Regions from separate parts of the Homo sapiens genome. Here regions 1, 2 and 3 are each linked to region 4. Evidence: promoter capture Hi-C in 16 types of primary human blood cells and fetal thymus (Javierre and others, 2016). All regions are on one chromosome and are shown on one strand. The core of a region is centred on a gene start or on the middle of the fragment in contact, and the rest is flanking DNA. Distances in the headings are between cores, read along the strand shown.

What was found. The method cuts DNA at HindIII sites, captures the fragments that hold promoters and counts their contacts. A CHiCAGO score of 5 or more calls a contact.
Region 1: a contact is called between a fragment that was not itself captured here and the fragment with the promoter of NRP1 in region 4, in 1 of 17 cell types (endothelial precursors). The highest score is 5.4, in endothelial precursors.
Region 2: a fragment that was not itself captured here is called in contact with the fragment with the promoter of NRP1 in region 4 in 1 of 17 cell types (monocytes); the score reaches 5.1 in monocytes.
Region 3: a contact is called between a fragment that was not itself captured here and the fragment with the promoter of NRP1 in region 4, in 1 of 17 cell types (monocytes). The highest score is 5.6, in monocytes.

What each region holds. Positions count from the first base shown.
Region 1 is chr10:34,122,632-34,129,614 of GRCh38, forward strand. The region is part of intron 23 of PARD3 (par-3 family cell polarity regulator); the gene reads right to left. Among named protein-coding and RNA genes, the nearest start is that of LINC02629, 220 kb to the left of the region's middle. The HindIII fragment of the contact is 1,093 bases long and covers 2,010-3,102 here.
Region 2 is chr10:34,161,004-34,168,793 of GRCh38, forward strand. The region is part of intron 22 of PARD3 (par-3 family cell polarity regulator); the gene reads right to left. Among named protein-coding and RNA genes, the nearest start is that of LINC02629, 260 kb to the left of the region's middle. The HindIII fragment of the contact is 1,593 bases long and covers 5,120-6,712 here.
Region 3 is chr10:34,188,971-34,195,958 of GRCh38, forward strand. All of the region lies in intron 22 of PARD3 (par-3 family cell polarity regulator), which reads right to left. Among named protein-coding and RNA genes, the nearest start is that of LINC02629, 290 kb to the left of the region's middle. The HindIII fragment of the contact is 4,511 bases long and covers 1-4,084 here.
Region 4 is chr10:33,332,804-33,340,574 of GRCh38, forward strand. It overlaps NRP1 (neuropilin 1), which reads right to left and starts at 1,864. Exons shown (of 17, transcript NM_003873.7): 1 at 1,507-1,864. The coding sequence starts at 1,579. The HindIII fragment of the contact is 8,759 bases long and covers 1-7,771 here.

The sequences.
Region 1 (6,983 bases), core at 1,306-3,805, 790 kb after region 4:
TCACTCTTACCTTTAAGATAAAACCCTCTAACAGGTCACATATTTCAAGGAAGATTGCATACATGACCAGCCCAGAGCAACAACTAAATAAGTTCATCCCGGCAAGTTTGACACTTGACCTGAATAAAAATCACCCCTCTAATTCACAATTTAAATGAAGACCTCTTAAAAACAAAAACTGGATGAACAGTATTACAATGGCAATCTGGAATTTTACACACTGTGGCTTCAATCCCTATGGCATGAACAAAATAATGTATCTGAGTCCAAGCACAAAAATAAAGTGAAGAAAAGAGGTAATTTGTAACCTCACAGAGAAGTGTATGTTTTCAAATAAAATATCATCAACAACTGCAGCGACAAAGTAACACCCACATAGGGAAATACCTGCGCAGGCATAACTGTAATAACTCTGGAGATTCACCAGAGAACAAGGCGAAGCTCTGTTCTAACAGTGCAAATTACAAATAACCCTGTGATGAAATTGGTTACAAGCAATGACCTTTTAAATAAAAAAAAAACATGGCTGCCAGAGCCATAATAACAATAGAGATTGTAAGATGGAAATAAACACACGAGTATATATTACACAGGATGCTGGAGAGCCATGATATGTAAATCTCTTCATGGCCTATGTTTAAAACCACAAGTGAAAAATATGTATTTTTTTTTGTAAGTGGACTACAAAGTACTTGTCTTTCTCATAGATTATAAAGGGATAATAATTCAAGCTTGAGGAAGCTATACAATGTTGGTATCATTTAGTAGGGTAAAATATAAAAAAATATTTTCCACAGTTTTTTTTTTAAACATTTTGTTTTTATTTTAGAGTCAGAATCTTGCTCTGTTGCCAAGGCTGGAGTACAGTGGCACAATTACAGCTCACTGCAGCCTCAAACTCCTGGGCTCAAGCTGTCCTCAGTAGCCAGGACTACAGGTATGCACCACCATGCCTGGTTAATTTTTTTTTTCTTTTTAATTTTTGTAGAGGCAGGGTCTTGCTGTGTTGCCCAGGCTGGTCTTGAACTCCTGCTCTCAAGTGATCCTCCCACCTTTGCCTCCCAAAGTGCTGGAGATTACATGCTTGTAATGGTCTCATACGGTGTTTTATGAATTAAGTCTTTAAGCATTTCTCTTAATTAAATAAAATCATTGCTTCAAAATAAAAATAGAAAAAAATGAAAATACAAAACGAAATATTTAATAGACAGTTAACAGAGTAAAGAACAAACATGAATATCCACAGTACAAAGTTTCAGTACTAATTAGAACTAGGTAATACTGTAAGACTTTGACAGCTTAATATGCGAGTGTGCTGCCACTTATGAAATAAAATCATTGTTATATTAACATATACATAGAATATTCAATAATTTCAAATAATCTATCACTTTTCTTCTTATAGATAAGGAAAATAGTGTGTAAGTATGTGTGGGTGTGCACGTGTATATATATATCCACACACATATGTAATATTTTTATAAAGGATCACTTTGAGCAGATTTTCTCCTTAAATTATGAATGATAAAAATCTGCAAAATTTTGTATGTCCAAGGGCACATATAGAAAACAAAAAGTAAAATACAAAACATTCAGGCACTTTGGATGAAAACCTGTGATGAAGATGATGGTGAGAATGATGCTGATGACAAAAAGACTAATGGCATTCCCTTGAGATTCACAATCCTTACTTTAGCAATTCACATGAGCTGTGACCCTAATAGGAATTCCATATTCTGATAAGAGTAGCAATTTAAAGATTTGGTAGGGAGCAGAAATCATTTTTATGCCATTAAATCATGTGAAGAGTGTCAACTGTTGACTCTGTTGAAAAGTGGCCAGTGCTAATATTGGTAATTATTTTCTTCAGTAGACTTATGTACAACCTTTAATCAAAACAACGTTAACTTTTGTCTACCCATCGTGCCTTCCCAGCCTTCCGCACCCACCCACACATGCCATAATTATGTAACTATTGACTGAACTCTTGTGGGTCTTGAATGTTGAAAAGCTTAATTGCTCCTAAGGATGTGAGTAATGGCTGAAAAGACTGCAAAGCACACCCGTTTCCCTCATGAAGTTTTTAGAAATGAATGTTTTGGTCTTAATTGTATTTGTCTTCACCTCATCTTTCACACCAGTGCTTAGATCTTTTATCCCCGCCCCCATCTTAAGCAATAGGAACACTGAAAATAAAAAGGTTGCTCTACAAAACAAGCCAGGCACTTTAGTATCTGGGCTAATGGCAACCCAAGGTAGCTTCAGGAGTTCCTACCACACAGGGCTTCTGAGCATAGCATGGCCATGAGTCACAGAGCCTTTGGCTGAGGGACAGGTCACAGGGCAGAATAAAGTGCTGACTTTGCGACAGTACAGAGGCTCTCTCCATGTGTGATGGGCACCTCTCTGCAGATGGCTTATCTCCAGGTCTATTTCTTTCTTTTTTTTTTTTTGAGACGGAGTCTTGCTCTTGTCGCCAAGTTAGAGTGCAATGGCGTGATCTTGGCTCACTGCCACCTTAGCCTCCTGGGTTCAAGTGATTCTCCTGCCTCAGCCTCCTGAGTAGCTGGGATTACAGGCACCTGCCACCACGCCCGGCTAATTTTTGTATTTTTAGTAGAGACGGGGTTTCACCATGTTGGCCAGGCTGGTCTTGAACTCCTGACCTCGGGATCCACCCACCTGGGCCTCCCAAAGTGCTGGGATTATAGGAGTGAGCCACCGTGCCCGGCCCTCCAGGTCTATTTCTATGCGAGGTGATTTCCACCCAACTAGAGCTAGGGTCATACTCATTTCAAGGCTGTCAACTAAGGCAGCATTTTTTGAGTCAAGGCATGGAGGCCGCTAGGAGAAAATGAGAGCAGATACTTTTTAAGTCTTAAAAAAGATGGAAACGAAAGGAAAACCACCATTTTCTGAAATTGCCCAGGCACAGGGAGGCAATCTAGTGGTACAGAGTGGCTGTGTGCTATGACTGCCTTGCCAATTAAAGCAGGCAGAGCCCTAAGAGGGCAGGGAGAGCTATTAAAGTCTGAAACAGGAAAAGGGAGAAAAGGACAGATTTTGTTATTCATTGAATGACGGACAGCTAGGAAACAAGCAAGCTTGAGGGAGAAGAGGATATTCACATTGCAGAGTATCAATTTTCTACCTGAAGGACTAAACTACTTTCAGTCACTCCCAACCTGGGATGGAAAGGATTTAGCAATACAGCTATTATTAAAGGCTCCATTATCCCATCTATCAGTCGTCTCAGCCAGCAAGTCTCCTTGTTGGCAACACTCAGGTATCTGCAAAGTTTTTACGGCATACTGTACTTACGTCTGCAGCCTGCAATTTAGTTCTTTTAAAAGCAACACTAAGTCCTGTCCATATCGAAGCTCTGTGATAATAACCCTAACCTCACCTATTGTTCCATTATCTTAAGAAAGATTTAAAGCAACTTGCTGCTTTATTTATGTTGCACCTGGCACTACGTGAGGAAGAAGTTGCCTTTTCTTCTTCTCTTGCTCAACTTGGGAGAGAATTCACTTCAATTATGGAGCTAAGGAAATTTTCTGGGCCTCTGCTCATCTAAAGACCTTTTGTGCCACAAATCAGCTCCCTCAGGCCCAGACATTATTTTGAACAAAGGCCCAGGAACAGGTGCATTCTGTACTGCTAGAGCTTATAGAGAACATTTTCAAAATAGGTAGATTGAAAGGGCTACTTGGATGAATTTTCCGCAGCATCCTGCTCTGTATGTAAAGTAATTGGCTTACATATTTTTCTCTGTGACACATCTGGCTGCACTTTGTGTGTGGGCATTTCTAACAAGCATGACAATTTCAACTAATATGGGCTCAGTTGTACACACAGCTTGAAGGTGAGTTTGTGGTTCCTTAAAACTAAAATGATTACAAACCATTCCAAAGAATGAGATCATGGTCCCATCCCTTCCAAATACAGTGACCCTTCAAGGTCAGAATACATAAGAGAAGAGAAGGATTCCAAGATGCAAAAAGCTCATTTTGTAAAACAGATAATTAAAACCATAGACCAAGCTACATTTTAAACAACTGAGCAGCTCTTCCTAAGGTAACCATAAGAATTGGTATGAAAATTAATACACTAAGTAGAATTCCAGTCACTTTAAGCTCATTTACATGATCAGTAAAATAGAGCAAGATCTCAGTTTCTTGAAAATGAAAAAAAAAAAAAAAAGAAAAGGTCAACTTGTGACCCATAATTTAGGAAATGATTCCATTTCTAAGGTAATCAGCCTGTCATCCAAATAATTCCCTGCTCACTCATTACCGGAAATGCTAATACAAGCCAAGTTGTCTGTCTGAAGTTGCTATGGCATTTTGATATATAATAATGTGGTCCATGACCTTCAGTAGTTGAGTTTCCAAATGTACAAGATTTTTTCAAACATTTTCCCTAACATGATTGTTCATATTAAGTAGATAACATAGAAATGCATTCCAGCCTATTCACTGTTCCCATTCAAAGTTAAAATCTTATAAAGAAACCAAAATGAATTTCAAATCATTTTCACTTTTCCCAATGAAAAACATCTAGATACTAAGACGTAGGAAATACTCATTTAGCCTCAAACAAACCTGGAGGTCTCGCATGTGGATACAATGTCAGAAACCAGAAATAAACTCATCAATCTGAGTTCTCAAAGACATATGTCTGCTTCTCTGTTATATATTTAAAATATATTCCAATTTCAAAGAGGGGTTCTTTCAAGCCTTTTCTGACCACCGCACACTGATGTGGTCCTCACAGCTCCGTGGTTCTCAACACCCCATGCACACCCCTAGCCTACCTCTGCTATATGGTACCAAGTATTCCTTTATTTTTTATCAGTTCTACTGGAGAGTTCTGAGGGCATTTTTTCTTTTCGATCTTTGTTCTCCCATACCAACCACAATGCCTGGGACATAGTAAGAACTCAATGAATTTGATGAATTAAATAATTAGTTAAAGAGTAAATGTCAAGATGCTGGTTTGGAATCCACATTCCCAGGCAAAGTCAAATGGCGAACACTGCTCCTCATGGCATGGTATGGAGAATGATAAGCTCAGGCGGGGCTGTGCCAGGTTGGAACTGTGTGCATGTGTGTTAACTATTTCCATATTCAGCTGCTGTTTTCTCCTTCAGCTTGACACCATGCTCATTACTCTTTTCAGCCTCTTTGTGTAAATATACATAGTTAAGAATTTATCACACATCACAAAAGAATCCTGTTTCAAGAAATGTAGTAGGAATGGATTGAGTCAATTATGCCAAACAATATAAGCAGATTAACATAATTCTGTCATGTTGCTACATGGGAATGACTCAATGTACTTGATCATCTAGGAAAATGAACTAAATACCTTAGAAAAATGCCATTAATAGTAATATTGTTGCAGAAGACAATTAGAGATTTTCCAGGGAACTTGTTTTATAACCTCCCAAAGTTAGGCAAGAATTGATTTCATGAGGTGCTTTTACACCTGGATGCTGATCCCACATTGCCAGTTGCCCCATCTTCCTCACCTGAACTAAGTTAAAGCTCTTCAAACTACAGTTGACCCTTGAACACCATGAGTTTGAACTTTGAGGGTCCACTGATACACAGAGTTTCTTCCACCTCTGCCACTCTGAGACAAGACTTACTCCTTTCTCCTCCTCCCCTGCCTATTCAATCTGAAGACAATGGAGAAGATCTTTATGATGATCCACTTCCATTTAAAGAAAAGGAAATGTATGTTCTCTTCTTTATGATTTTCTTAATAACATCTTCTTTCTAGTTTATATTACTGTAAGAATACAGCATATAATACATAAAATGTACAGAGTGTGTGTTAATCAACTGTCTATGTTACTGGTAAGGTTTCTGTTCAACAGTGCGATATTAGTGCAGTAGTTAAGTTTTCGGGAAGTCAGAAGTTGCATGGGGATTTCTGATTGTGTGTGTGAGGAGGAAGGGGGATGGTCCTCCAACCCCCATGTTGTTTAAGGGCCAACGGTAGTACTGCTTCTCCCATTTTTTCCTCTTTGCCTTTGCTCCACAAAATTAATCTTCCTCAAACCCTAATTTGGTCACTAAATCCCTTAATGAGCAGCATTTATAGGTTTCTTGCTTTATGTAGAGTAATATATTGTGAGTATTGGGTTTCAGGACCAAAAAGGACCTCAGAGATCGTCTAGACTTTAGAACAGTGATTCTCAAAGTTGAACTTGTTTCAGAATGAGTTGGAAGGCTCATTAAAAACCAGATTCCTGGGCCCCACCCGTAAAGGTTTACATCTAGTAGGGTCAATGCAGGGACCAAGAATATGTATTCCTAACAAGTTTCTAGGTGATGCTAAAGGTGCTGTTCTGTGGACCACACTTTGAGAAGCTCTGATCTTCAGCAGCAGCTAACAGGATCCAGCCTCTGTAGTCAACTAGAGGGGTTCTACTTGCATCTGCTTTACATTTAGCTTCTTCTTAAACTTTCATTTCATCCAAGGGTTTAGTAACTGACATCCAATCATTTATTCTTTCTTTTCTTTTTTTTGATTCAGAGTCTTGCTCTGTCGTCCAGGCTGGAGGGCAGTGGTGCAATCTTGGCTCACTGTAACCTCTGCCTCCCGGGTTCAAGTGATTCTTCTGCCTCAGCCTCCCGAGTAGCCTGGATTACAGGCATGTGCCACCAGGACTGGATAATTTTTGTATTTTTAGTAGAGATGGGGTTTCATCATGTTGTCCAGGCTGGTCTCGAACACCTGGCCTCAAGTGATTAGCCCACCTTGACCTCGCAAAGTGCTGGGATTACAGGCACAAGCCATTGTGCCTGGCCTGCAATCATTTATTCTAATCTTGGTTGAGAGATAAGAAAACTGAGGCCGGAAGAGCCAGGCCACCTGGCTACTGGGCCAGTGTTCTTTCCTAGCACTATTTCTCTTCAAACTTTCAATCTAGCATTGAAGGCTCTTCCTACATTTCTACCTTTAATCTCCCC
Region 2 (7,790 bases), core at 4,666-7,165, 830 kb after region 4:
CCAGCACTTTGAGGGACTGCTTGAGCCCAGAAGTTTGAGACCAGCCTAGGCAATATAGTGAGACCTCATCTCTACATAAAAAGTTTAAAAAATTAGCTAGACATGGTGGTGCACACCTGTAGTTCCAGCTACTTGGGAGGCTGAGATGGGAGGATCACTTGAGCCCAGGAGGCTGAGACTGCAGTGAGCCAAGACTGTGCCACTGCACTCCAGGCTGGGCAACAGAGTGAGACCCTGTCTTGAAAAAAAAAAAAAAAGAAGAGAATCGAGTGAGAATTAGCATGAAATGGGGAGAAGAGGGGAGTGGGGAGGGAGTGCTCAACTGAAATTCAATGCTAAGAGAGTAAAGAATGGATTAATTCAACTATTTTAACAGTGTACAGTAAACATTACACTGTTACTCAGTGTAATGCCTACATGACCTAGGGCACTTGGATCACAGATCAGCTTCTTAATTCTGCTTTACTTTAGGAAACACCATTCCTGAAGTCAAATCCCCTGCATAACCAAACTGGCCAAGACTGGTGGAAATCCCAAGATGCTGGCCCACTTGACCTCTGAAGAACCTCTAACTTCATTATAATCTAATTTCCATGCTAAATGACACTTCCACCAGCACCATGACGGTTGACAATCACTATGACAATAGCTGGAAAAAAACATAAAAGAACAAAAAGGAAAGTGGCAACTCTGGTTCCAAGAAATTCGCTGTTCATTTCAAGACACGAACATTCCTCCCTTTGCTTTTAGTGCCCAACCCATTCATTAAAGATGCCCTATATCTGTGACTTCCTGGCTCTCACAGGCTGAGAAGCTGATCTGTGATCCAAGTGCCCACTCAATTCCATGGCCATCCGATTAAAGCCTGCACTGCTCGACGCTTTCAGTTTTGTGTACTAGCTTTGAAGCACCAAACAGGGAAAGAGCCCATTTGGGTGGGACCAGCTTTGTCAGTAATATTAGTGTTATGCCTACAGGAAATACAAATATGAATGAAACATAGTCATTGTAGTTGGAAATGCATGACATATATGTACATATGATAGAGGCAGGAGGCAGAGAACTCTCCTAGGCAGATAGGGAAGGGTCCCTGAAGAATCTCCGACCCACCCCCCAAGTATTTATACCACATGTTTTGTGCAGATAAGGCAACCTGCACAGGGAGTTTGCCTGAACACGCCCAGAGCAGACTAAGGGACCATATGCACACTGGGGGGAAGGGGTGGAGCCACCAGGAATTCAAACCTTATACAAACAGGGAACCCAGCGCCATCAGCTTGGATATATAGAAGCCCTCGTATTCAACTGTTAAGGGGGGCAACTGGCAACCTGCTTTCAGGATCCCTCTTTTTGCTGAGAGCTTTCCTTTTTGTTTAATAAATTCTATTCCACTCACTCTTCGATGTCCGCATGCCTAATTTTTCGTGGTCGTGAGACAAGAACCTGGAACTAGCTGAGTGAAGGAGTTTAAAAAATCCTGTGTCACATACACATGTGAGTATGTATATACACATATTCGTGTTATTATATGCATTTTGGCAGTGCCTACTATGCTATGTGTTATGCATAAAGTGATCACTAGAAGAGTATGCTTCCTGCCCTTACAGAACAACTGTGCTAGTAATAAATCAACTAGAATTGTGTTATGTGCTGGGAAAGAGAAGAAGAGAGTGTAACTTGATTGAGCTAAGCTTGCTACATTCACCTGAATTCTGATTTTGTGAACTAAATGGAAATGACTAGTAAGGAAACTCCACAAAAATTTGACCTGATAGGCTAGAAGGGCCCCACAAGGAAGGAAAGTGTACTCTAATGGGCAGTTAAAGGAACCAGCCTGGCCACACACTTCCAACAGGACTGTGAGAATTCAGACCCACTCCCTCAACTCCTGGAGGAGCTGCCCAGATAGATGCCACCACCACACGGGAATCTGAAACCACATAATTTCAGGGCTGGACATGGTTCAAAAATCAGCAAGTAGGGTTCTGAGTGAATGCTCTATACATATAGGTAGATTATTACATTACATAATTACATAAAAAATAAATAATTACCTAATTACACTAGGTAATTATTTTTGACTTTAGAAACAAATGACTTGTCATCACTACATGAAAGACAATGGCGTTTCAGTCCAATACCCTTGGTAGGACTTAGAGTGGCCACCACTCCTGGGAGGGAGTTGCGTATTCACCTAGGAAGTTAAGTCTTGGGGAGGAGGCTTGTGTTCCCGGCCACTCCACAGCCGGTGGGGGGGAGGACACACCCACAAGGCGTGGGAGAAAACAATTAGACTAAGATTAGAGCCATCCAAGCTGGAGGAACCAGATAAGGCTTCTTGGGTGAGGTGGCATATATGCTGGTTCTTAAAAGAGAAGCAGAATTTGAAAAGATGAAGAAAGGGCATGAGATGAAAAGATAGCACAGGCAAAATGTTGTAGTTAAATAGAAAGGAATGTCGGTTTGGCTGGGACACAGAACACTCAACCACGGAAAAAGAGAGAAGAGTGGAGATCACACTAGAAAGAAACAGGGACAAAATCCTTTACAGCGGAACTGGGAACCACTAGCAAACTTTTTCTATAAAGGCCCTAATAATAAATATTTTTGGCCTTGTGGGTCAGTCTGTTGCAACTACTCAACTCTGCCATCATACTGCAAAAGTGGTCACAGGAAATGCATAAACAAATAGCCCTGGGGATCTGGTCTGTGGGCATAGTTTGCAAACCCTTCTGTCAGAGAGATGTGATCTGCTCACGCACCGTTACGGGGGAACTGCTCAGGCAGAAGAATGAGAATCCAGGATGTTTTACAGCAAGGATCTACTGGAAGAAGGAAGGAGTCCAATGAGTAACATTAATACTCTGAAATAATGAATTCTTGTTATTCACATCAAATGGCTACAAGAGCAATAAACACCTGAGGGAATGAGGTAACAAGGAGCAAAGTAACTCAACTGGATTCATATTCCATTTGTTAGTTTAAGCAATTATTATTATTTTCTTAATGTCAAGAGTAAACATGCACAAAATATGGTTAATTAAACCACCACGCTCATAGGTCTTGTGAAAGACAGCGAGTAGTAAATCACTAATACAGACATTGTGCAAAGCGGAAAAATAAACAGCTACTATGGGAATTCAAAACAAAGAGCCACCAACTAAGGAAGAAAAGGAAGAATTGGCCATAAAAAAAACCTGCTTCTGTTTTTGTAACAACTTTGAAAGATGAATAGGAAAGTTTGTTTATTTCCAAGGTGAACTTTAATCAATGAACTGTTAACATCATTAAATACACTGAAGCATGTGCACCATGTACTTCTGCAAAGGGCAACTGTATGCAACTTCTGAATGCAACTGCCCTCATCATTCTTGTAATCTCCAGGAATTAATCAAAAATGGCAAATTTCAGGTCATTTGATATGATAAGAATACATTTATAACAAATATATTTTGTCACATCTGTAAATATTCCAGAAAGGAAAATTCTAAAGCTTTCAACTAAGAGTAGTATTTGTTGAACTATTCTCAGCAGAATATGACAACGTAAGACAACAGAATTGTGATCATAAGCAGGCGTCTGAATGAACCAGAGACCAGTCATTTCTTTTTCTGCTTTGAGAAACATTTAAGCAAATTCCAGTGACAACTTTTGTGGATGTGTTTTATAGTTACAGCAGAAGACGACATGCAGTTTTCCTGTGCAGAAACAATGTAAAACTGAATTGTATGTAAAGTTGTTCTTTTTTCAAAAATCAGAAAGTACTACTTGTAGTTTCCCTCCTAGCTGGACGCACACACATACACACATATACAATTATTTCCATAGTCATTTTGGGGATGAGCGAAAACAAGCAATAGCATTTCTGAAGCGCACTGACTAAATGTATTCATAATAGTAATCAAGTCATTTACTGAAAAGGTTCTCAAGAAATCACCTGGCCATGACCTGTCACTTCAGCCAACTGCATGTAAGATAATTTAACGTTGATTGATACTAGACTCTCCTTTTTTTCTCTTAAAGATTCTTTGTGGCCCCTGTTAGAAGACCACCCTAACATTTCATTATCTTCTAAGATACAGACTAAAAAAAAAAGGTTCCTTTAATTTCAACTAATTTCTCTTTATTTGGGTCTCTGGAGAAACGGGGAAAACTTGTCAGACTCATCCTTATAAAACCCTTTGCACCTCTGAGAATATGAACTAGGTCTCACCCAGTTTTCTCTTTTCTGAGCTGAACTGATCTCAATTTTAACTTACGTGGAGTCTCACATCCATCCCTTCAGTAGTGTCTGCTGAGCTGGCCAGCTTCTTCACTTCCCTTTTGAATGTGGAGGATATTAGAAATTTTACTGTGGCCTGCCATCACTATCTCTAGCATGCCAGAACATTCTTATATTAAAATCAGGACACTTCGAAATTTTAAGAGCCAGAACCATGTGTTTACTGGAATTTTCCTCAATGTCTAGCATTTTGCAAGGTGCCACTGGGAGACAAATGTCCTCGTGCCCCAAGAGGAAAAACCGCTTTGTTCTTGCACAAGGCTAATGCACAGAGCCAGTGCCACCCCTCTCTGCCTTCTCAACACCCAACAATTTGGCCTTAAGCTCCCACTGCATTCTCAAATGATGTTCTAACAGCTTAATAGAGTGAGTGGCCTGTTTTTGGTCTTCACATTTCTTGCAGAACTTGACCCTGCTGGCTCTCCTTTGTTGACTAAAACGTTAATTTTCCATGTTTGTTGAGGAGCAACCCAAATTACTGCTCATCTTTTACATCTCTTTGTTTGTTCCGTTCTCATTCATTGGCTGGTATATCCCATATCAATGGTCATTTTCATGCAGTGAAATCTACCTCATCTAAAAAACACAACCATTATTCTAATCACCTGGTAAGTGTTTCACCTGAATATGTTGACAACATTTTGAAATATACATATACAAGAAAGAGCTATATTTCTCACTAACCTTCCTCTATTTCTATTATCCCTTTATCGGTTAATGCTATCGCTATTCTGTTTTTAAAATCAGTCACTTGTTTCTTTCTTTCCCTAAACCTTCCCTCAGATTCACTGAGTTGGACTTACAGATATGAAGTACTTTATTGCTGATAAAATATGAAGCTTTGAAAAAGTTGTTCTATTGGAAAAAAATTAATTAGAAAACAAAATTAAATTTAGCAATAGAGCTTGGTGTGTTCCAAAGCATGGACTATGCTTTCTTAAGTCTTGATGGATGTTAATTCTTTCTCTGAGTCTCAAGGCAAAGTTCCATTTGACCCTGACATAAGCAAACACCAGAAATCTCACGTGCATTAAAAAAAGCTCAGGCCTGGGCGAGGTGGCTCACACTTGTAATCCCAGCTCTATGGGAAGCCAAGGCAAGAAGACTGCTTGACGCCAGGAGTTCAAGACTAGCCTGGGTAACACAGTGAGATCCTGTCTCTACAAAAAATATATATTTTTTAATTAGCTGGGGGATGGTGGTGAGCCTATAGTCCCAACTACTCAGGAGGCTAAGGCGGGGGCAGGCAGGCGGAATTGCTTGAGTCCAGGAATTTGAGCCTACAGTGAACCATGACCATGCCGCTTCACTCCAGCCTGGGTAACAGAGTAAGATCCTGTCTAAAAAAAAAAAGAGTTCAGAAAGGACTCTACACCCATGTACCCTGGCTGGGACTGCCCGATGCCCCTTCCTTCTTCCAGGATGAGTGTCCACTCACAAAACACCAAGCAAGCACCCCCACAACACACACAATAGCCAACCTATAATTCTCCTTAAATACTTCTTTTTTAAGAACACCAACTAAACGAGAACCTTAAAGATTGTTGTAAGGTGTGTTTTTTCCTCCATTTCTCCTTAAGGAAAGGTGGCTGGCATGATTCAGCATCAACATGCCAAATATTCTATCTGAAACTATACACTCTGTTAGAGTCACTATTTGCAAAACAAAACTATCACACTAGTGAAGGGAGTGATTTGTGAGAACAAATTAAAGACGCATGACCAATTTGTCTGGGCAGTAATGATGTAAACCTGCTGTACCACTAAAGAGTTACGCCTGCTGCAGCGTCGAGCTTGGATTTTCTGCTGTCTAAATCTGCCGCTTACGGGCCTGGGTCTGTGTGTCTGAGGGAATAACCTGTCAAGGAAATCTCCCACTTACCCACAATGACCAACTATATGCTGTTCACTAATAAGTATTCATATAGACCTTACCTCCAAAAAGTTTGACTATAATAAAGTATCCTTAGCTCAAAATTACACAGAACACCTCAGGGTCACTGTGAACATCAACCATCGTTGCACGGGTCTGCCGGCATGTGCATTTTGGTGTGTGATGGGTTACTGTGATAGACTGCATGCTACACCATACACAATTAGTCTGCCAGTAATGCTTTTTCACTTTAATGGTCTACACTAGGAACAGCACTGCGTGGTTTTCGTGAAAAGGTGCTCCATAAATGACAAGACTTTTTCCTTCTCTGAAGAAATATGAAACATTAAAAAAAAAACACCCCAAAGCCCCCAAAACCCTCAAGTCCTGAAGTTACTTCTGTGGTTAGCAGTAGAAAATGGCAAAAGGTAATATTTAGGTATATGTAAGGAAGAACATCTGAAATGAAAAAAATATGAGAACGCATATGGAAAGCAGAACCGAATAAAATAGAAAAACGTTTTGCTTAAGGGTAGTTTTTTCTTTGATATATGCTAAGCTTATTCTATCAACTTCAGCCAGAATAACTTGTTTACGCTTGAACGTGTCTCTGCCCTAGGAATGGAAGGTCATTTTATAAGATGTATTTAATTTCTAATTTGTTTTCTAATTAAATTATTTTGATAGCTTCTCATTTGTGTCCTCTGATACAATAATTAACTCTTGATACTAATTGAAATATCCACTGACCCTATGTCCCCAAATCATGGACTACCATGAACAAAAAAAAGGGTGACCTCTGGCCTTCATGTTCCCAGGGGTGCAAGAGGGTTATGTTGAAACATGAGTTTTTTTTTGAGCAAAGGTCGTGTCATAGTAATGGCTTAATATGGTTTTTTTCTTTTCTTCTTTTTTTCCTTAATGAAAAGGCTGAATATTTGATAGAACTGTAACATTCATTTTATAGCTTTGGTATCTGTTGTTGAAATAGTGTTCTGAGATGTGAAGCTTAAATATTTTATGAAAAATACCTCCTCCAACAGAAATGTTAATAATTTAATATATGATAAACTACACATGAAGTTTCAGAAACAGTTATTTAGTGGTAGTTTTATATTTGATATGAAAGCCTAGTAGATCACTCCCTTGCTGCGTACTTTGATTTAAAATGGCAGTTTTTCTGCAAAATTATCTTAGTATAAAACATGTCACTAATTTTAAAGTGACTTTGATTATTTTATTTTTTGCCTTTAATCCAGAGAACTGAGAGCCTGTTGATGAGTGATGCCAACATGTCTTGCCAAAGCATGATTTTGATGTTAAATATCCAAGGCCACACATTGCTATGTGGTTCCATTTAGCCAATACTTCCTAAGACACTGGTGGGTCTCTCTAGGGCAGGCGTGTGATTTGGTAAGTCATTGGGAGGGCGAGGAGCTGCACTCTGATATGTCCTGACAGGCCCTCCCCGCGAAGGATTCATTGGCTCTGAGGCAGTTACTGAAAAGAGCAGCTATAATCAACAGCTGTGTCCTGATGTTTTGCCAATCTGTGCTCATAAAACATGATGTTTGGTAACATATTTCCAACACAGTTTGCCTTTGTCTTTTCAACACCAAAATTCCCACTTCTGTA
Region 3 (6,988 bases), core at 579-3,078, 860 kb after region 4:
GACTCCTAGGGGTCTACAAGATCCTTCCAGAGGTTTTACGAGGTCAAAAGTATTTGATAAAAATACTAAGACATTTCTTGGCTGGGAGCCATGGTTCATGCCTGTAATCTCAGTGCTTTGGGAGGCTGAGGTGGGAGGGTTGCCTGAGGCCAAGAGCTCAAGACAAGCCTGGGCAACATAGAAAGACCCTGTCTCTACAAAAATAAAAATAAAAATAATAAATAACCTGGGCATGGTCCCCAGCTACTTGTGAGGCTGAGGTGAGGGGAGGAGCCCTTGAGCCCAGGAGCTGGAGGATGCAGTGAGCCATAACAGTGCCACTGCACTGCAGCCTGGGTAACAGAGCAAGACTCTACATTACAAAAATAAAAATAAATTTTAAAAATGCTGCTAAGACATTTCTTTCCTTCTTTATGGGGTTAACACTTTGTTGGTGGTGCAAACGCCATAGGGGAGGGGGCAAAACAGCTGGCAACTTGGCACAGATCAAGGCAGCCAGTGTCACCAAACGATACTAGTGGTCACTGCATTTGCCCCTCTGAGCACTTGAAGGAAAATCAATGCCAGCATCACTTAGGCATGCCCTGGATGAGGCAGTAAGTATTAATTTGGTAAATCCTGATCCTGAGTAAGTATCTTTTAAATAGTCTGTTATGAGAAGGCAAGTACATGTTTCCATGACCTACTGAAGTATGATGTTTGTCTCAAGGAAAAGCACCTGTGCAATTGAGTTGTGAGCTGAACTAGCCACCTGCTTCACAGAACACCACTTTTCCCAAAAAAGGACAACTGACAAAAACCTGTTATTCAGACTTAGGCATTTAAAAAGCCATTTTCTTGAAAATGAGCAAAATGAGCCTATCCCTTTGAGGAAAACCACTGACAGTATTTGTTGCCAATGATAAAATTTGAGCTTTCAAGTGAAAATCAGAACTTTGGAAAACTTCTGTCTACCATCATGACTTTGATGGTTGCATAATTAAGATTTCTGTTATCTTTTTTTATTGTATGACAGAGTGTACCATCTGTTGGAGGATTTGCATAACTCAGTGGTCTCACATTTTCCAAGTGACCAATGCATGGTATAAGTAAAACATTCATGGGCAAAAGGGCTATTGGAGGTGCAAGAGAGATGAGCGGTTTTAAGGTAGCTGTAAGAAAAGTTCCCTAAGGTTTTAGGTTTCACATTACAATAACTAGTAAGAAACTACCACTTGTCAAGTTTTGATCCAGAAAAATATCTGCAATTAGATTGTATTGTCTTCACAGACATTAAACAACACAATGAATCAGACTGACTAAAGGAGCAAATAGGAGGATCTTGTTGTCTTCCCTTCATAAGCCAGACACAAAGAAATTTCTAAAAATCTAAGACAATGCCACTGGTCTTACAATTTTTTATTCTGCACAGTTATTTATATAAAATGTATTTTATAATAATACTTAATAAGTTCATTATTGTTCATTTTGAAGGAATAAATGATTTTTAAATTTCCCAGTTTACATTTCAGTGGGAAATATCAACAGATATTTACCCAAATAATAAACTAAATGCCCTTTGAGGTTCTCAACAGTTTTTAAGAGTGTAAAGGGATCCTGGGGCCACAAAGTTTGAGAAACACTGCCGTAGTCTTATCTCTGGGCACCTTCTCACCCAACACAATTTCTGCCCTTGGGAGCCCATGGCCTAAATGGGAGATACACCAGGAAACAACTCTTCAGTGTACTGCATGATAAATGCTGTAACCAGAGGCCGGGAATGCAACAAAAGAGAGCGTGACAAATTCAGCCTGGGAGGGTGAGAAAAGAAAAAACTCTCTGAGGAGTAGGAAAGTGAGTAGGAGTTTTCCAGGCCAACTTGGAGGATGCCGGTGGGGAGGAGCAGAGAAAACAGCATATGCAAAGGCACAAAAATATAAATGGCAGCATGGCATCTCGCGGGTCCTGTAGTTCAACTAGGCTGGTGTGTGGAATGCGGGGAGGAGAGGAGACATATGAGTGCAATGTTAGATAGAGCCCAGACCCCTTAAGACAGGAAAAAACTTAACAAGGGAGCATCAGAAAGGCTTTAATCAGGAAATGTTATGTGAGATTTGTGTTTTAAGAAAAAGCTGTTTCATCAACGGTGTGGAGAAAGGAGTGAGGAAGTGTGTGATGAGATGGGAGAGCAGCTAGGAGGCTACTGCATAAACTCAGGTAAGAAATAAAAATGGCCTAGTGATAGCATTGGCAATTTGCAAGGAGAAGAGGGCTGATAATGGCATCATTAACCAGGAGAGATTTAGAGCGGAGAATAAGCCACTATAGAGGAAAGTTATAGAGCTGATTTTGGAATATGTCGACTATGGTGAATGTGGGGTATCCAGGAAGTGGGCAGCTAGATGTAGTCTGTGCTATAAGTAGAGGAATCACTAACCCAACCAGTCACTGGCTGAGAGGCAGCCACTGAAAGTATCAACGAATCAAAGAGGGAGAGGAGCTCTAATTGACTGGAAGGCATCAGGCCCAAGTCCCATAGGAGAAAAATCTCCTGGCCCAAGGAGGAAACACCAACTGTGACCCTTCTGATTAAACCTAAGTAGACTTGCTGGATATTTGGAAACAGATGTCACCAGCCAGAAGATGCTTTTCAATTCACAGTCCTGCATGGTTTGGTCTGTGCTTCAGCCTTGGGGGTGGGGGTGGGGGTGAAGATGGGGTCTGGGAGCCTAGGGGGAGGGAGGATGAAAGAAGTCTGGCATTGATTCAGAAGGATTCCTGGCCCCGCTGAAGAGACAGAGCAGATCCAACTCCCCAGTGAAGAACAACAGTCTCAGCGTCATTTTCTAATTCCCCAGCTCAGACACAGACAGGAACTTCAGATTAGGGAACCTGAGTCTAAGAGAGAATTTGTACACTGCACATGATCAAAACTTAATGAATGATTTCTCCTCTGTGAGGCCAGCAAATAGAGACTATAGGCTTACAGGCTAAAACACGGGCTCAGCTGAAATTGGAGGAATATGCCATCTGGTAGAAAGCAAGAACTCTCACTAAAAGAAGTGGAGGTCAGTGGAACACTTCAAAATCAGGCATTCTGAAAACTAGCAAAAACCACTTTCCTGCTTGTTTTTTTTTTTTCCTTTTTGAGACAGGGTCTGGCTCTGTCACCCTGGCTGGAGTGCCCGGCTCATTGCAACCTCTGCCTCCTGGGCTCAAGTGATCCTCCCACCTTAGCCTCCTGAGTAGTTGGGACTACAGGCATATGTCACCATGCCCAGCTAATTCTTGTTTGTGGGTTTTGTTTGTTTGTTTTTGTTTTGTTTTGGGTAGAGACAGGGTTTTGCCATGTTGCCCAGGCTGATCTCAAACTCCTGGGTTCAAGAGACCCTCCCACCTTGGCCTCCCAAAGTGCTGGGATTACAGGCGTGAGCCACCGTCCCCAGCCCTGCTTGTTTTTCTATCTGCCCTTTTGGTTCTTGTGTCTGAGACAGAAACAGCACCAACCTTAGAAGACAGTTTCTGTCTTCTCCACACAGATCTTATATTTCTTCAGTACTTTGCTTGTTGCTTAATGCTTCGTAAAAAAAATTTTCATCTACTTAAACAATAGGCTTCTAAACTGAGACCAAATTCCTCTCCTCCTCTTCTGTCCCTGGCACAGCTGGAGGTTGGACTGGACTCACATGGCCCCAAAGAGTAAAGGTGACCTCCTGGACGTCAGAGTGTGGAGGGGCTGTTGATGGCACAGGCCGGCATCCTTCCTGTCTTGCTCCTAGAATGTTCTTAAGATCCAGGGATAACTAGATGCCTGTGATCTGTGTTATCTCCAGGCTTTCTAAGAACCCATGAAATCCAAGTACCACGTGCCATTTCTATGAATGGGATAGAAATAGTGATCCACACATCCACCCACTCTCACTCTCAAATTATCATGCCCGCCTCTCTAAGTCTGTTTTTGAGGTAAAGGCATTAAAACTAGAACGTATTTTTATGACATTCCAATTCTTAGCTTAAACCCAATTTTAAAGTTTAACTGAACCAGGGCAAGCTCCTAAAACTGATTTTTGGAGCTTTGAAGGAAATGGAAGTACTGCTAAGGACAAGCTTCTCAGAATTATACAAAACACCTTTTGAATTAAACAAGTAAATTCTTTCCACTGAAGTATCTAATTTGAATTTAAACATTTCTTTACATGCTACCTTAATTAGATGCACGTTTCTCTCAGTATCTTAATTTTATGCATTTTACACTTCTAAGCAGCTTGCTAGTGAGGATTGCTTATTTGCATTCATTTACATACAATTTGCAAGAAATGTTGAAAAACCTAGAAAGGGAGAGATTGTAAATTCATGGATTTTTCCCTAAATAAAAATGTCAGTTCTATGAAGAAACAAACAGTGCATTTTTTCCCCTTGCTTACCTATAGTACTTTCAAAACTACTTTTACTATTTGTATACACAAAGAGATCCATTTAATGAATATTGGAATAGGAAGATTTTCCCCTGCAAGTTAATAACAATGATGAAAAAGGCTCCAAACTTCTAACGGCCTTCTTACCAAGAAGATGAAACATCCTCAAGCAGATGATGCCTCCCGACAAATATTATTTGCAAAGTGCATCTTCTCATACAATAAGGACATATTTGATCAATTCTGCTCTAAAGATTCATTCAATTTAAAACCTATTTCTTTTAGCAATGGGTAGTTTATTCTGTATGACTTTCGCTTCAGTTAATTGGATTTTCTGCACTTCCCTCTCTTCTCTTCAGCTCGAATTTATATTCACAATAATTCCTGCCCATCTTTACAAGAGCTCTAAGTGAAGCTGGAGGACCAGCGTGGGCCACCCTTTATGAGAGAAAATTCAGTTGGCTATTTTTCAGAGATGGAGGCTGTTGATACTTTCCTGGTTTTCAATGCCCTGAATTTTCTACTAACATCACAAACTACGGGGTGCTCCTCCTCCTGTGACCCTGGGCATGGGCTTGGACAGGGCTCTGGAAATAGATTTCCTATAGCAGCTGCTTCTGCAAGGACTGCAGAAGAAGCAAAATGGTAGAAAAGCCTCCAACATTAAAATTTTATCTCTCCGATTTCACTGGAACATGGCAGGGAGCTCCCCCACCCAAGCTTCATAAATAACCACTGCACTTCCAGAAGGCTCTCCCTCTACATATTGAGAGTAATTTTAGGTTACTGCTCTGAGCTTCACAGAAGAAAGCTGCTTCTCCAAAATAAGACATACTAAGCAAAATTTGAGTTGTGACATTCTTCTAGTTGTAAAATAATGTTATCTGGCAGATGGAGTTTATCCTTGAGAAACAGTTGAAAAGGCAGACGTGGAAGTTGCCCACCCAGAGCAGTAACAGGAGGCACACCCACCACTGTTTCAGAAAGCTCCTGACACAGCACACAGCAGGTTCAGGAGCTGCCTGTGTGGCCCGAGCCGCTCTTGTACGTCCCTGTGCCTCACTCCTCCTGATGTAAAACCAAGATCGCACAGAGAAAGCAAAAAACAGATGCTGCACTTGAGATGATCTCTCTAAAGTAAACAAATTAGGGAATTTATGCATCAACTGTGGTTTCTGGAAATCAGTTGGAACTGTTTCGTAAAATAACTCAAGACATCACTATGAATACCCTGGAATATGCCAAAGCTTTTTTTTTTTTTTTTTTTTCTTAAATTAACACTTTTTTTTCCCCTCCATGTTCAAGGCAGTGTTAGGTGGATAATGGGGAGATGGACTGAAGATGAAATGTGTAAGTTATTATTCATAGTCCCTGAAGGGGATCAATCTCCATGCTTAAAAATACTTAAGAGTTTCTTAGATAGTTATAGTTAAATACTTAACAGTTTATAGTTTATTAAGAATACTTACTAGTTTACTGTCATTGAATACTTAAACTATATAGCTGAGGTGATTACATGTATTAGCAAAAGTAAAATTTGATGAACTTTATCTAAGATAAAATTTCAACTTCTGTTTACTTATAAAACAGATGTGCCACATTGGGCCTGGCAGAATAAGCCTGTCCTGATTTTGTACCTTCCTATCTCAAGATATACCAACGTAATTTCTCTATGTAAAATTAATAGGAGAATCCAAATTGCTTTACTTCACAAATAAATATGCCAAACAATGTCTCTTAAGGAAAACTGCAATCAATAATTAACGGAGTAGCTGCAAAATAAGTTGCAAAAAGTTGAACACAATTAATCCAATGTTTATGCTTTCTTTAATAAATATTCATCTTTTCTAATCCTAACTTCAAGACAAACTTAATTATTTTTGTATGCCCACTTTCAGACTTGTAATAGGATCCTCAGGGCTGACAGGGGATTTTCTTCACCACACTGAGCAAAGTGTCTACTCTTTTCTTTGTTGTTCAAGTAGTGCCTGGCACTTAGAACTGGCATTCTGTGCATATAATGAATACAATGCACATGCACAGAACGCCTGCTACAAATACACACACACACACACGTACTAAAACGAGTAGTAACTGACAACACACAGTAACATGCTAGGTGCTTATCAGAGAAAAATCCTTTAAACAGACATAATCAAAAGAAACACATCAAAGGCAAACACTTCTGGAGTGCTTATGTATTGGACAGGAAACACATTCTCCATCCTCAAGAAATCAGCTCCAGTTTAAGAGACAAGATGTTTACATAACTAAGAATATAAGGCATCACATGTTCCGAGAAGAATGAGAAGGGACAGAAGGTGACATAGAGGCAACACTGAAAACATGTATTTAGAGTCATGTGGATGGGCACAAACATCCCAATCCAAATTTTAGGAAGAGGTATGTGATGACATCAAATAGCACAGGACAGAGTGTATCACTGCAAACCTGAAAATCTTGCCACTCGCTAGCTATGAAAATGAGGCCAAGCTCCTTAACCATTACCTCAAACCTTAGTTTCCTGGTACGGTACACGTGGATAACAGTGGTAACTCACAGAGTTGCTGTGAAAGTGAAATGCTGTGAAAACT
Region 4 (7,771 bases), core at 614-3,113:
GCTTTTGCTGGTAAAGCTCAACAACTAAAGCCAGATTTTCAGCATTCCCCAGATTTCTGCTAAGAAAACTAAGAAGTGTGTGTGTGTGTGTGTGTACTGCATATATATTTGTGTAGTTCACAACCTAAAGTCTGATAGCTCTTTGCATTGAGCTTCAAATCTATCTTGTGAACACCCCCACTATGGATTTAGTCTCAAGAGTTGTGGAGGACAGGGTTACTATAATTTCTAGTCCAACCATTTGAGCTCTTTCAGTTGGACGAGAATGCTATTTCATTCCCTGCCAGAGTATAGAAAGATGCTACCAGCTCAGGTTCATTAATAAATTGAATTCTACATTCATAATTTTTTGTGTCTTGCTTTCCTGCCAGATTATAGAAAAATGCCATCAACTTGGGCTCATTAATAAGCTGAATTCCATGTTCATAATTTTTTTTTTTGCATGTGTTTTGCTTTAAGCATCTCTTAAAATACTGCTTGGTAGCTGCTGAGGGAAATCCATTGCTAAAATCACAAAACCTTGAAAAAGCATATTAGAGAGATTAACTTCCATCATAAAGATGTGATTTAAATTCCTGTTGGTATGAGGCCCTCCACTTGCGGTCTCTTATTAAAACAATATACCACAGTAAGTAGTGGATGTTCTTTTCTTCTAATTACTGTGATTGAAATCTAAGCCAGACAAAAGTAAATATTTGATCATTAGTTAATAACAATTGCTGACGACTTACTGTAAAGATAATTGCATACCCTTGCCTGCACTTACTTTACAGTGTGAAGTCAAACATGCCTACAACCAGATCCCATTTTAAAACACATTATTTAGGTTACATGGTACTGTTTAGACCCCAGTATAGTTTTTCATTTACTTAACAGTGAGTGATTTTAAAAGCTAAGTGGAAGCTGCAACTAGCTTAGGGATTTTCAGATATCCTGGTGCCTTACACTGTATATGTCAGATTCCTGTATTGATACTATGTAACTTTCAGTCATACTCCAGACAGATTACGGAAGGTGTACAAAGGCGGGGGAGGGAGTTTCATCAACCCACAAACCGATATCTCTGGCCGTCACCCACCAGAGGAAACGGCTTAGGGGAGCAGCAAAGGAACCAGGAAGTAAGATCTCCTGGTAAAGTGTTCATTAACTTTCAACAGCCATCAGATTTTTGAAAGGGAGTCTCTTCTAATTGCCTTTGGGAGGAAACATTATTAAGATAATTGGCATGCTGATCTGGGAAGGTAGACAGCTCTGTCTTGTAACAGAGGTAAGGAAAAGCCCCACAGCCCAAGGATCAACGTCAGGAGGGAGCCCAAAGACCTGAAATCCTCCTGCTCTAAACCGCCTGATCTCATTTCTTCTTCTCTCCTCCCAGATAAAAGTTTCCTTCGCCCGGGAGTCGGTTGTTCCCGGCTGATCCCGGGAAGCCCCGCCTGAGCCCCGGTCCGGGGCGGGCAGCTGGGAGCCGGGGCGCCGCTGTCACCCGCGCCTCTGCCTGTCACTTACCGTTGCGAAAAGCGCCGGCCGGGGCGAGGACGAGGGCGAGCACGGCGCAGAGGAGCGGCAGCCCCCTCTCCATTCTCCCTTCTCCGGGTCCGCAGGCAGACGCGGGAGAACGAGGACGTGGGGGGAAATGCAGCAAAGAGGAGAATCTAAGCGATCCGAAGAGCCCCAACTCCGCCTAGAGCTGTACAATCCTCAGCCCGTCTTGGAGAAAAGAAAGCAGCGAGGCAATGCCTGGATCCGAGAGGAACGCTTCTCTTTTTGTGTCTCAAGTCGCCTGCATCCTGTCATTTAGCTCCGGCTTCCTCTCCCTTTTCCCACACTTGTTCCTCTTCCAGGAGCCACTGCCCGGGCCATGTCTCAAAAAAAAAAAAAAAAAAAAAAAAGGCCGGGGGGGGGCTGTGGGTGGGAGGGGGAGGAGGGAGGTAGGGCAACACACACCAAAGCCAATTTCCAGGAAGAAAAAAAAAAAATCCGGCTTGTTTCTGGACCCGTTGGAGCCGCGGAGCTGGCGCCCAGGGGAGGTCCGGGTGTCTGCGGGAAGGAGGGGAACGAGCAATGAAAAGATGAGCGGGAGACAGAGGAGTTTCACCAACTGCACCCCCGCCTCCCCTCCTGCGGCCTCCCCCCACTCCGGAGCCCTTCCCTCGCTTCCTCCCGCCCCTCTCCCCGCTTGGGCTCGCCTGTAATTGCCTGACAGGAGACTGGGAGGAACAACTTTCCCTCCGAGTGCTCTCCCCGTCCGTCTGTCTGTCTTTCCCAGAGACCCTGCAGGGATCTCCGCGGGAAGGAAGGCGCTGGGAGTCTGCGCCCCGGTCGCGTGGGTGCGGGCGTCGGAGGAAGGGGCGCGGAGGTCAGTGCCAGCCGCAGGGTCTGGCCAGCCCACCTCGCGTGCTCGCTCTGCACCCCTAGAGGGAGAGCTGGGCAGCTCCTGCAGGCGCAGATCCCGCCGCCGCGCAGTGCGGAGCGCCCGGGAGGTGGCGGCTGCTTCTCGCAACTTCAAATCCCGGGGCCCGCGCCCTCGGCGGCGAGGAACGCAGGGTCACCCCCTGCCACTCCTCATCGCGCCATCCTGAGACCTGTGGCGGGGAGCAGCGGGGCACCCCTGGACGCCCCTGCCCAGAGCTGGAGGGCGAGGAGGGGAAAGCCGGGCTGGAGTGGGAGCCGCACCGCGAAGCCGGGCGAGGGGCAGCAGTGTCGCTGTGGTGTGAAGCGAAGACAGACCGCCTGGGCGGGCGAGGCCGGGCTGCAGCCCCACGCGGCCTCCCTGGCCCGCATCAGGGCGCGCGGCTGGGTGCCCTCTGCGCGCCGCGGAGGCTTCATTGTTTCCCGAGATTTGGTGCCCGTTCCTCTGGGGCAGAGGGAACACCGGAGGGTGGGAGGTGCTGCGCCTTCCAAGCAGGGGGGCAATCGCCGCCCGACCCCGCCCAACCTTGTCTGGGAGCCCAGGTGCTAGGGAGGGGTGTGGAAATCAGGGGTCGGGCGGCCCCCGTTTCTCTGTGCATCCCGAGGGAGGGAAAGAGTGGCGGGGGAGGGGTGCTCTTCGCTGCGCCCTCTCAGTGTCCGCTCCCGGCCACAGACAACGTGCACGCCGGCCCTGGAGCTCCTGCCACCCCCACTTCCCACAGCGGCTCGTGCCCCCAGCCCGCTGGATGCCCCCCAGGCCCGTCCCCGAGGGTTTTCCGAGAAGTGCTGCAGGAAGCGTTTGTAGATGCGAAAAGCAAGGACATTTCTGGGAAGAAACAGGTTGCGGTCACCGATCAGGCCCCGGAGAAGGGTCAGTGCCCACGGGGCACCTCCCAGGGAGTTTGTGGGTAAGGTGAAAAGGTCACACGCCTCCTGGGGATTGGCGTCTACACACACAGCCAAAGTACAGCCTGATTCCTACCTGGCACAAATAGCTGGCCAAAGGGAGGTAGGAATGCTGGCAAGGAGACTCTGGTCAAAGGTTTTGGCGGAAGAAAAAGGGGCGGGCAGGGAGAAAGCCCAAGGCGCGCGGGCCCCAGGCCAGGACTGCGCGCTCGCGACTCGGGCTGGGAGCAGTGACGTGCGCCCCTCGGGGTGCAGGCCGTTCCCGGGCCAGTGGGAGGTGCACCCACGGAGCCCGCACTCGCCACTCTCTTGCCCCGGGTCAAGCCTGTCTTCTCCTCCCCACGCGCCTCGGGATTCCCAGTCGCCAAGTTGGAAACTCGGCCCCCCCGAGCGCCTCTTTCCTCTGCCAGTTTCCTCCTTCTTCTCAGCTGTCGGACCCCTGGGAGGCGCGGGGTGGGAAGTGGGCACCGAAGGGCTGGGAGTTAAATGCCTAAGTTGAGCGGAAGGAGCACTGTCGAAGCCATGGGCAGCCCTGCGCCCGGGCAGGCGGGCAGGCGGGAGGCGAGGCGGGGGCGCCGACCGCGCCCAGCGCAGACCCCGGGGGAGTGAGCGCCGCAGAGGCAGCCTGGGCTCTCGGCTACTACCCGCGCGCGGTCGCCGCCTCCCCAGGTGCAGCCCCGCCAGTCCCAGCCCCCGGCTGCGCCGGGCGAGCGGCATCATCAGATTTAGGGTGACCCGGAGCGACCTCGGTCCAGGCTCGGAGGGAGAGGCGCCTCTCAGGACCTGGCAGGTTGACAGGGAAGGGGAACCGGGAGGGAGCGGCGGCCGGGGCGGCCTGGAGTCTCGGAGGCCCGCCTGCGTCCTGGGGGGACCCGACCTCCGCGCTCGCTCCGGAGCGCCCGTTTGGATAGCTCTGAGCCTCGGCGGGGTGAGCGAGGGGGCACACGAGGGAGACTTGAGCTGTGTTGTTTTTAGAAAACTGCCGCCAATCTCTCTTCCCCTTTCCCTGCTGAGTGTGCATTTTCCAGCCTAGACCCGCCAGGCCAGCAAATAAAGCCACCGGATCGTGCACTCCGGAGCGACTGCCCCCACCCCGACCTTGTCTTTCCCGAAGGGAATGGCTCCTCCGGCGCCTCAACGCACAGAAAACGCCTGCCTCCAGCTGAGCGCTTTTGCCAGCTTTCTCCAACCAGTGAATAAGGGATGCACTATGGACTCAGAAGGAAATGTCATATTTAAGTTCTGCCTCTGATTTCTCTGCTCTTAGCTGATCTAAGGTTTTTCTAGACTCCTTAGTTTCCACTCACAGTGCTGGGTAATGGAGCCCTACCGCACTGATTGAGAATTGCCGGCCAGTGGGTTGGTACAGAGCAAATTGTCCTTGCTAACAACCTTTTTCCTTTGCTGTTGGATTCCACTAAGTGGTGAGAGGGGTCAGTTTTAGATTTTTGCAATTCCCCAGCGTGGAGACAGGCCGGCTCTATACGAGAATAAGTGATAGGCAGAGGAAGAATTTGGCAGTGTTCCCGGGTTGATTTTATTTTGGTCTCTTGAACACATTATTCTTCCTGATAGAACAAATCCCTGGACTTGGTAGGACCCAGTTCCAGGGAAGGGAAGAGTCCTCTACCGCACCCCCAGAACGCCCTGCAGAGGCTGTGAGTGGGCAAAGCCCAGTTTCCTGGACTCCCACTTAGGAGGTGCTGCAGAAATAAGGCCTTCAGCTGGGGCTCCCTGAGTCGGATTGGAACCGTGGCCCATCAGTAAGAGTAGACTGGATGGTAACTGCTCGATTCCTTTCATCAAGCTCTCATCCCTTTGTCAGAAATAGATGAAATCGATTGCTCCCAGAAGGCCATTTGAGCCACTAACTCCCTCAAAGTACTTCAGATTCATGCAATATGGAGATTCGGGTTGGTAGTTCAAACTGCATCATATCTAGTCAAGTTTTTTGAAAACATCAAACCCATAAATTTCAGAAAAGCAATACAAGCTCCATATTTTTAGTAGGAGCTAACCTAGTTTTGAGATGTATGAATAGATGAAGTGAAACTGGAAAAACATTAAAAGTTGGAATTTTAATTAACTAATGTTTAAAATAAGCCTATTAGTGGTTATTCTGTCAAGTGACTGTGTCATGCAAGAGGTGTCATCTGGGCCTCATTTTTGGCCATCTCCTTGATTTGTACTGACAGAGAAGGAAGGAAATAAACAAATGAATCTTCACTTTCTGATTCTACCTTTTTAGCCTTTTAAAAGTTACCTTGAAAATTCCTCAAATATTGGAGAAACGACTACCAACTAAAACGTTAACACAAAGTTACAATGTGAAGTTTTTGTGATACAGTATATTTACTAACCAACAAGATGAAGAAAGATAATGCTAAATTTTGAATCACACTAGATTCAAAACATTTGCTAGAGTAGAGGTTACAGCCATATTTGAAAACTGTATTATTTTTCTGAGATAATAATATTAAATGATTTTGCCTTCATTGGATTACTTTTAAATTGGGAAAATTAAAATAATTATAACCAACAGAAACACTCTTCAAATCAATAGAGACATCATTAGAGAGAACATATTCAAAATTTGAAAGGACTGTTTTAAATAGGGCAATCTTTAAAATATAATTTGAACAACCAGAATAGAAAACTGGCTGCCTCTTAATATTTAATCATAGTTTTATGTAAATAGCTAAAATTTTAAATCAATAAAAAATAATTTTTAAAAATATCAAACAATGGCCACAACAGTTAAGAATTGTTGAATTTATTCTCAAAGGATGTAATTTCATTTTGCATTTTTATTAGATGACTCTGGCAGTTGCCTGTAGAATGGGTTATGGGCGGAGCAAGGGAAGAAATGAAGAGACCAGTTTTGAAGTAACCATAGTAGAATCTAAAGGAGAACTTCAACAAGGATCTGGCGGTGGAGATTGGAAAAGGATGCTTTCCAGATGTATTGAGAAAGTCCAACTGGACAGATGGTGGTGGATAAGCCAATGAAGGAGAGGGTGTTACCAAAGATTCAGGCCCTCATCACTGATGGGTGCGATTGCCTTCATGTAAGCAAAGGGACACTAGCAAAAGGCTAATTTGGAAGGAAGATCATGAATTTGATTGGGGTTAGGTACAGTTTCTGGTGTCTTTGAGGCAATCAAATGAGTTAGGAATTCAGAGGAGATGTTTGGATTGGAGATTTTAAGTTTGTGAGTCACTGACATGTAGATGATGGCAATCAAAGTGGAAGGAATGGATAAAATTGCTGAGGAAATTTCAGGAGACCCAGGATAGGAAGTTAAGGACCCTTTAAAGCCTGGATTGTCACAGTGAGCTAACAAAATACCTTGAGAATGAGCAGCTGGGTGGTAGGTGGAAAACCAGGAGAGCCTATTGTCATAAAAGTCAAGGAGAGGGGGAATTTCTAAAAGGAAGCTCTGGACAAGAGTGGAACACCATCAAGAGTTCCACTCGGATGAGGACTGGAATGCAATTGGACTTAGTGGTATCATGGTTACTGAGAATTGACTCTTCCAAGAGTCATTCAGTGGAGCGATGGAGGAACAGGACTAGAGGTCAGATTGCAATGGGCTGAAGAGTCAATAGAAGGTAAAGAAAGAGAGAGAACACATAAAGATAAAATTCTCTCTGGAAGTTTCTACTAAAGGGGAGGAGACAGACGATAGCTCTGGAAGGAGGAGATGTGGAGGGAGGTTGACTTTTTATTTTATTTTATGTTTGCTTTTAAGATAGGGTACTTGTGAACATTCTTGAATGCCAATGGATAGAATCCAGTATTGGGGGATATGTTGAGATTAAACTACTGAAAAGATAATCCGGGTGTTGATTGCCTGGGAAGGCAGGAAGGGATACAATCTACAGCCCAGATGGACAGATTTACCGTAAGTTGGAAGAGGGACAGCTCCTCTGTTATAGCAGTGGGGAAAGAGGAGCTGATGGGTGTGATTACAAGAAGGTTTGTCATTTCAGTGGGTGGGTGTGGGGGGCAATTTCTCTCTACTCTGGTTTTCTCTGTGAAGTAAGTCGTACCTTTGAGTAAGAATGACAGTGGAGGAGAGGAGCCGAAAGTGCCTGGAGAGCAGAAAAAAATTGACGGGGACGACTAAGCTGACCAGAGAAGCTGTTGTTATCATGTTATTGTTTTGATAATTTCGTAAGTTAAAAATTTGAGCTGGGAGCACATTTTCTATGGAAGGCATTCTCCTAGAAAAATTGGCTAGTTTTTCATGAAACTCAAAAAAATCTGCTTAACTCACAAGGAAGTAGTAATATAATATGAATGGTATTCTTTCAGCTTTAGTGACTCAAAGTAGGTGTTCTATAAATGTTCTTTTTTAAAAAGAAAATTTTCCAACCATTATTTACAGCACATTAAGGAATGTGTCTATTGATGGGTAGGAAAAGTTTCCCCCCAACCAAATAATTCTTTGTA